3 separate regions of the Homo sapiens genome follow, and regions 1 and 2 are each linked to region 3. Evidence: promoter capture Hi-C in 16 types of primary human blood cells and fetal thymus (Javierre and others, 2016). All regions are on one chromosome and are shown on one strand. The core of a region is centred on a gene start or on the middle of the fragment in contact, and the rest is flanking DNA. Distances in the headings are between cores, read along the strand shown. Region 1 overlaps MSI2 (musashi RNA binding protein 2). Region 2 has its middle 28 kb from the start of CCDC182. Region 3 holds the start of MSI2 (musashi RNA binding protein 2).

Region 1 (2,700 bases), core at 104-2,603, 320 kb after region 3:
GAAGACCATAATCCATGTTGGCTGGGTGCAGTGGCCCACACTTGTAATCCCAGCACTTTGGGAGGCCGAGGCAGGTGGATCACCTGAGGTCAGGCGTTTGAGACCACCCTGGCCAATATGGTAAAACCCTGTCTCTACTAAAAATACAAACATTAGTGGCACGGTGGTGCATGCCTGTAATCCCAGCTACTTGGGAGTCTGAGGCACAAGAATCGCTTGAAACTTGGAGGTGGAGGTTACAGTGAGCTGAGATGCGCCACTGCCCTCCAGCCTGGGTGACAGAGCGAGAATCTGTCTTTAAAAAAAAAAAAAAAAAAATGACTATAATCGATGTCTAATTTTAAAGAAAAAAAAAAAGGAAGGTTGGGCAGGGCGAGATTTTGACATGGTTTATAGGAAGCCTGGGGTTTTTTTAGTTGACTGTTAAGTTTTCTTTGAGGCAACAGGTGATGGAGCTGCTAAGGACGCCACCACAAAGGGAAGTCCAGTCCGGTATTTGGTTGCACTGCTCAGACCCCATGTGGAATATTCCATTCCAGGCATTTATTTTAAGAGGGGCATTGACAAGATAGACCACATCAGAGGAGGTCGTCTGATGGGGACCAGGACAGTATTACGGGAAAAATTCCAGAGGAACCAAGGAGACTCGAATAAGGAGAAATGAGGTGGCTACGTTAGATCTTGAAGGACTACCCCTGGGAGGGGGGCCAGGCTGCTTCCCCAACCATGAGTGGCCGTTTGTGAAGTTACCAAGAGAAAGGCTGATCCTTGGGCTGAAGAATTTAGCAACACCTCAAGATGCCCAACTCAAACAAGCTGTGTTTATGAAGTACCGAGGGGTGATGCCCCTTTCCCCAGAAATATTCAGAGACTAGAATTGATGAGGCAGCAAGATGGGGCCAGGGACCACTTTGCAAACCACTGGTGGGTCCTGCATTATGAAAGTCCAGCCTGGTCCAAACCGTCCCATTTCCAGACCCATAGAGCCCAACTGGTAATATTTCAGGAGGATTCTGTATAAAATTATATCTTTAAGCCCTGGTCTCCAGTAGATATTGGTTTAATTACCAGTTATTTACTGCCATGCTCAGTAGATGATAGACAAGCAAGAGAAAAGGATAAAATGAAAAAAATTAAAAAGAAAATTCCAAACCCTTTGAGGTAGTAGGAAGAGCCCCCTACTTGCTGAAGATGATTAAGAAATAAAGAGAAAGCTTTTCTTGGAGTCATGATGTAAGCCCAAAGGGAAAGTAGGTTCTTATTTATGAAAAAAGGTTATAACTTAAGCTGTTCAGAAGCACAGCAATTACTTGGAGTAAGATGCCTCTTAATTCATTTGGCCTCCTTTGTAGGTGGCTGAGTAAGTGTTTCTGCGTCCTCGGACTCCAGCCCTTCTTTGGTCGCCACTTGCTTTTGTTCACGGCAGGTCACTGGGTACTCCAGAGGCATTGTTGATAATAACATCTCTTTCCTCCCCCACACCACCCGCAAGCAAAGCTTTGGAAAAACAGCCAAGTGTTCAGCAAAGTGAAGGCTTCGCTTTTCTTCCTCCCCGCTCCTCCCCTTGTTGAGAAATCCCATTATCCGGGAGAATGATTGTGAAACTCCAATCTGTCTGCCGCTGAGCTGTGGGCCGTTCTTCTTGCCTCCTCCGCCCCTGCCCTGGTCCCCTTGTCTATCTGCAGGGGGAAGACAAATATCTATATATTAAAGCTTTAAGAATCTATAAATCTGAGTTGATTCTCTGCTGGTGACAGCCCAAGCTCTTTCCCACCACGTTTGACATGATCTAATGGGTTTACAGTTGTTTGAGTGCTTCTCTGAAGCAAATGAAAGTGCTTAGTTAGGGGACGTATGAAATGGCATTGTTTGTTCTGGGCACTACAGCAAAGCTAGGGGATCATCTTTAAATTATCCACCCTTTCTCTTCAGCCACCCCGCAGAACAAGGGGCTCTGCCGCTGAAGGAGCTGCAAAGACAGTTCCTACTGGCCTTGCCTTTCTGCTTGAGAGGTGCCAGGACTGGGGGGGTAGGATGCATCCCCAGCTGTATTCATTTCGCCAGGAAGCTTGGGGCTAATTGGGAACAGAAGAATGCCCAGGGGATGAGGGGAAGGGGACGGGAGAAGGATGGTCTCACCAAGGTAGAGGAGTGACAAATACTTGCTTCTAGCAAAACAGGAGTAAAAACAAGAGAGACTCCTAATGAGAGCTTTGGGGCAGTTTGTGCTTTCCATTCTCAGGGGCCAGCAGTGTGGGTTGGTGTGATTAGTTGCCTTGCTACTTGGCGCAAAACCAATTCCTCTTTTCAATATCAAGTTTCATAAGCGTGGAACAGTAACAAATCATTATAAACCCTCTGGGACTGGTGGGTGTGTGATGATGCGGGGTTGTTTTTCTTTTTCCCCCTCCTCTTTGATAAGCCCATCTTTTCAGCCCAGGTACATTTTTCCCATTGTAAACAGAAAATGGCATGGGAGGGAGTGTGTCTCGGAAACTTGCTGTATTGTTAATCTGTTATTAGGCAAAAGTCTTAACACCAGGCTGGGTGCTCAGATGCCTCATTGTGAGCTGGGGATGGAATTATGCATCATGAATAAAAACCGCTGTCAACATGCATTGGTTTCAAAACATTAGAGCATATGGTATGTGATTATCTGTATTGTCAAGTGCAATAAAGTGAATTTGGATATAATAAAGG
Region 2 (2,700 bases), core at 38-2,537, 460 kb after region 3:
CTGCCCCTCTGCCCTGTCTGGAGGCCTGTCTGGGCTGTCTGTGTGCTTCCTGGCTGCAGCAGCCTTGTTGGTCCCTGATCTGTCGGCATGCGGAGAGTCTGCAGGAGGGACTCTGCAGTGTCTTCTGAGCCTTGGCATACAGAGGAGCCATCAGGCTGGGTGATGGGCAGCCTCGGGTGGGGGCCTGAGAGTTTCTTCTACTTCTCCTTTTCCTTTCTCCTTTCTTCCTGCCCCTAGGAAACCAGCTCCATCTGGTCTTTGAGATTTGCTTCTGGAGTTTGAGGCTGGGGAGATATTGTCCTGATTCCCATCTGGGGTGGGAGTGGTAGGTATGGGTGCTGGTAGACCCTCTCTTCTTAAAGGGGAGCAGCTACAAGACAACAACCATTCTCGCCACCTTGCATAGCATTGCTTTGAAGGATTATACCAAAAATAGCCTATTCCATGAAGTGAGGACAGGAGAAAAAGAAGAAGATAAAGAGGACAGGCAACACCATCCTACCTCTTACATAGCCATGCTCCTCATCCCCCAATCCCATCCTCCAGCTCCTTATCCCCTTCCCCTCATCCCCCATTCTTTTATCCTCTCATCTCCCTACCCCATCCTCCCCTATCCCTTCATCCCCCATCTCCCATCCCCCCAGCCCCTTGTCCCCTTTTACTTATAGTCTTTGGAGGAGAATAGAAGGGGAAGCAGGAGAAGAGCGGCTTCCTGGAGTTCTTGCAGACCCTGAACCTTGCTTCAGACACCTCTAGGACACCAGCATGAGGGATGCCTTCCAGCAAAGCTTACACCTGCAGCATTCCCAAAGTCACAGACATTTCTTCTCAAGCAATGGATAATAAAAATAGAGTAACTCATCACCGGAGTCTTGAAACTCTAAACACTGAGAACCACCTATCCGGGTCAAGTTCTCTCTTTTTTTGAAGGTCAGAGAGAATAAGTGACTTGCCTAAAATTACACAGCTACTAAGCTCAGGGCCAACAGTGGAACCAGGCGTTCTAACCCCCTCTTGGGAGTCTCCTCCCACCATGCCAAGCAGCCTTAGACAGGGGCACATGATGAGAGTCCCCTCCTTGCCAACCAACATGTTGACCTATATTCCAGGACCTGGATGGCTCCCTAGTTTTCCAAATCATTTACTCAAGGGCCCTCAAACCCCTTCTTCCCATTCAATTTCCTCATTACTCCTTAAAAGTGATAGTCTAAGAGGTGCCTTATCTTGGAGTCTTTATGCCTGGCACAGCTCATAGAAGCACAACATAGACTATGTGGTATGGTAGAACTAGACCTGGCCTGTGAGGTGCCTGGTGCTAAAATTTAGGACAAACCCAATGGTAGGTGCTGTTGGAGGAAGAAGAGTCTGGCAGGAAGAACATAAAACCTGGTGGATAGCACAGATATCATCCTGGTGGTGCTTAGCATCGGGGAGCCCCATTCATTGGGGACAGGTTGCCCCAGCCCATGGACAAAACTCTTGCTCCATAACTGCCCACACAGACGAGCTAAGTTCACATCTTCACCATCATCAAGGTGGTCTAGGTCAGCTCAGCCAGGAGGGTTCTCCCCACCACCCTTCACAGTCCTCTGATTCTACCCGGAAGCTAAGGAGCAAATAATTTTAGCCCTTTCTTGGTGGAGATGGCAACGGCTGGATCCTAGCTAAGGTATCAGAGGTGTCAGTGTCAAAGGAATGGCAGAATGGCCTAAACTTACCCTATGGTGATAAAGTCATTAAGAAAGGAGGCAGGAGCTAGAGAGGCCTTCAATTATTTTTCATCTCCCAAGCTTTCTGTGGAAACCCTTGGTGAGATCCTTATTTTCTTCGACAAAGGAGTTTTGGGAATGAAGTGGAAAAGAATAGAGTCTGCCTTCACAAGAACTAGTTAAACAAGTCTTTGTGGAAGAGAAAAATCGTCAGAGGAGGGTGAACCCAGACTCAAGTCAGGAGAGCTTGAAAAAACACACAAAAACCATGTTGTCCACAACCTGAAGGGCTTCTGAGCTGTCGTGGGAGCAAGAAGAATCTGCCAACTGGAGCGGATGGTGACATGGGACTGGGTGGTAAGGAGGAAGCAGAAACACCTCACCTCTTCACTGAGTTCCAAATGTCTGTATCACAGAGGACGGTCTTCAAACACAAAAGGGTCAATCAAACACAGTTAAGAGAGAATAGATCCATTCCTGGAATTCTGTCTAAAGGAAGGAATCTTCAGTAGGAAAAAAGGCATGCACAAATTATTGCAGTGTTGTTTAATGAAAAATTGGAAACAAATAAAAGGAAGGCCCCAAACAAGAGACAATTTAAGCAATCTACAGAGCGTCCAGTCTATGGACTCTTACAAAGCAATCAAAATGCCTCCAGACTTTGTAAGAGCCTGGAAACTACATGCTGACATGTTAAGTAAAAAATAAATAAACAGGCCGGCGCGATGGCTCACGCCTGGAATCCCAGCAACTTTGGGAGGCCGAGGTAGGCGGATCACCTGAGGTCAGGAGTTTGAGACCAGCCTGGCCAACATGGCAAACCCCCAGCTCTACTAAAAAAAAAAATAAAAAATTAGCCAGGCATGGTGGTGCACACCTGTAATCCCAGCTACTCAGGAGGCTAAAGCAGGAGAATCGCTTGAAACTGGGAGGTGGAGGTTGCAACGAGCCAAGATGGCGTCACTGCACTCCAGCCTAGGTGACAGAGCGA
Region 3 (2,700 bases), core at 1-2,500:
GAAACTTTCATGCGATGCCTTTGGAAGGCTACAGACATTGTCTTTTTGGAGTTTTCAGTGCATGAAGGTATGAAACCGCATTTATTAAGCACCTACTGTATGCCAGAACCCGTGCTGCACAATACTACTGCTGCTAAGGTGGGAGTGATTCTGAAGCCTTCTGCCACCCTAGCTACCTCTGCAGGTCGTGAGGGGTCTTGGGCTATTTCAGTATCATGCACTTTACTATCCTGGCATACAAAGGCTGGGTGAGAAATAAAATATATAACGAACGGATTACACAGGGGTTTCCTGAAATAACCACCCTTCCCATCCATCCCAGAGACACCCCAAAAGTACTTCTCGTTATATACAAACATTTGCTTTGAACCTCAATCATGTGACCTTGACTCCTATAACCTATCTTATTACATTTTTAAAACACTGTATGATTAACGCGGAAACCCTTTCTTCGGCACTTTCTCGCCACTGGAATCGCGTCAGTTTCTCAAAGTTCCAAAATAACCTTTCCCGGGCACGGATTGGTACCTCTACTGGGGAAGGGCGGGGAACCGCGCAAGACGTGCCGGTGTGGAGCCAGAGCCAGAGAGAACTTCCAGCGCAAAAGGAAAATAAAACTTGTGGCTGGTGTTTGTGCAGGAGGGTCTCCGCCATCCTGAAGCCCCCCGATCCTGGGGCGTCTCGGGGGCCGCCAAAGGAGCGCCAGGGTGTGGGTTTGCTCCCGACGTCCTTGACCTAAATTTCTGAGCGGTGGCTGGAAACAGGGCACAGCGGAGGGCGGGCGGCTGGTGCCATTCCCGGATCTCGGCGGCAGGGGCCGGCAAACTTGAATGGAGAGGGCGAACTAGAGAGGGTGGGGGGCGTCTTCTCCCAGGTCCGGGTGAGGAGCCGCAGCAAGCTCCCCGCGCCTCCCCTCCCCCGATCCACCCGCCCCCCGCAGCCCATGTGATCCAGGGAAGTCGGGGTGCGCTCCCCCTCGCCCTGCGCCCTGCCGGCCCGGAGGCGGGGTCCCCTCCGCCCGCGGGGTTCGCGCGCCACCCTTGTGGGTCCGGCCGTGGGGGGCCGAGTGTGCGCGCGCGGGCAGGCGGGGGCCGCACGGGGGTGCGTGACGTCACCGGCATTGGTTACACGACGTTCTAGAACTCCGCCCCACGTGCGCCGGGGAGGAGGGGGAGGAGGAGGAGGAGATGGGGGTGGGGAGGAGGAGGGGGAGAGGTGGGGATGGGCCGGGGGGGCGGGGACGGGGGGGTGTGCGAGGCAGCGGGGCTGAGCTAAGCCGAGCCCACGTGTGACGGCTCTCGCCGCTGCCCCGGCTCCGCCGCTCGCAGAGAGATTCGGAGGAGCCCGGGCGGGGGGGAGGAGGAGGGGGAGGAGGGAGCGGAGATCTCGGGGCTCGGAGCCGGCCGCCGCTCCGCTCCGATCGCTGTGGGGCTTGGTTTTTTGGGGGTGGGGGGGCGGGGGGGCTCAGATATGGAGGCAAATGGGAGCCAAGGCACCTCGGGCAGCGCCAACGACTCCCAGCACGACCCCGGGTAAGTTTCCAGCCGCTGCCCACCGCGCCGCCTTGGGCTCGCTCTCCTTGCAGCGGCGGGGACGGCGGTGCGCGGAGCCGGGCATCTCCCGCGCCCCCCCGCCTCTCCCGCGCGCCCCCCCCGTGGAAGTTACACACCTTTGGATTGCATTTCGCCGTCACCTTCTCCCCCACCCCACCTCCCGGCTCTCGCTCGCTCGCTCCCCCCCGCTTTCCTTTTAGCTTTTGTAAGTTACACGTCAAAATGGCCGATCTGACATCGGTGCTCACTTCTGTTATGTTTTCTCCCTCTAGTAAAATGTTTATCGGTGGACTGAGCTGGCAGACCTCACCAGGTAAGGGAGGGAGGGGGGGACGCCTGGGTCCCCCCCTTCTTGGCTTCTTTATTGCTCTTTGTTATCCCGGTGTAGGAGCCCCCCCCCCCCCGCCATTGGCTCCCCACTTCTCCTGTGCAAGGTTATTTTTTTTAAATAGCAAATCCTTTCTGAGCCCTCTATGCGACCTCTGTTGCCGAATTTCCCCCGCGTGTGCAAAAAATGCAAAAACAAAACAGAATAACAACAGAAAACTACTTTTGGATTTTGTCCTTGATCAAAATTTGCATTGCTTTTTTTTTCCACACCTTCTCTCCCCCCCCCATCTCTCTCTTTCTCTCTCTACAGATAGCCTTAGAGACTATTTTAGCAAATTTGGAGAAATTAGAGAATGTATGGTCATGAGAGATCCCACTACGAAACGCTCCAGGTAAACCATTCCCTTCTGGATTTTGTCTTTATTTTAGAACAAAGTTTAAGTTTTATTTTTGGAGGTGTCTTCGGAAGTAGCTAAGCGGATTAGAATGGGGCTCAGGCGCGTGGCTGATCTCGAACGGCGCTCTATACCACCCCCACCGCCCCCTAGTAACCCCAGAGGTTATTGTTAATTGGAGCTGAACTCTGGATACAGAGATACCCATCTCTCTGCTTTTAAGTCATTTTCCCGTCGCTTCTTTTTCTCTGTTTAAAATGACATTCAGCTTCATTTACTTTCGCATAGTTTTTTTTTTTCTTTTGATCTTAATGTGTGTTTCCCCCACACTCCCAGCTCCCCAAACTCTTAAGATCCCTCTTAGAAAGATGGTGGTAAATCTCTTCTAAGTGCCGGGCTTTCTTCGGAATAAAACAAAGCGT

Evidence for each region. The method cuts DNA at HindIII sites, captures the fragments that hold promoters and counts their contacts. A CHiCAGO score of 5 or more calls a contact.
Region 1: a contact is called between a fragment that was not itself captured here and the fragment with the promoter of MSI2 in region 3, in 1 of 17 cell types (megakaryocytes). The highest score is 5.4, in megakaryocytes.
Region 2: a fragment that was not itself captured here is called in contact with the fragment with the promoter of MSI2 in region 3 in 3 of 17 cell types (total B cells, naive CD8 T cells and M0 macrophages); the score reaches 6.6 in total B cells.

What each region holds. Positions count from the first base shown.
Region 1 is chr17:57,576,455-57,579,154 of GRCh38, forward strand. All of the region lies in intron 7 of MSI2 (musashi RNA binding protein 2), which reads left to right. Among named protein-coding and RNA genes, the nearest start is that of MSI2-AS1, 31 kb to the right of the region's middle. RefSeq lists an enhancer at 2,501-2,700. The HindIII fragment of the contact is 283 bases long and covers 1,213-1,495 here.
Region 2 is chr17:57,715,680-57,718,379 of GRCh38, forward strand. No RefSeq gene overlaps it. Among named protein-coding and RNA genes, the nearest start is that of CCDC182, 28 kb to the right of the region's middle. The HindIII fragment of the contact is 1,002 bases long and covers 787-1,788 here.
Region 3 is chr17:57,255,273-57,257,972 of GRCh38, forward strand. MSI2 (musashi RNA binding protein 2) reads left to right here and starts at 1,251. Exons shown (of 14, transcript NM_138962.4): 1 at 1,251-1,532; 2 at 1,826-1,866; 3 at 2,194-2,275. The coding sequence starts at 1,471. It overlaps LOC101927510 (a long non-coding RNA gene), which reads right to left and starts at 1,724. Exons shown (of 3, transcript XR_007065860.1): 1 at 1,670-1,724. RefSeq lists a silencer at 806-1,435. The HindIII fragment of the contact is 32,545 bases long and covers 1-2,700 here.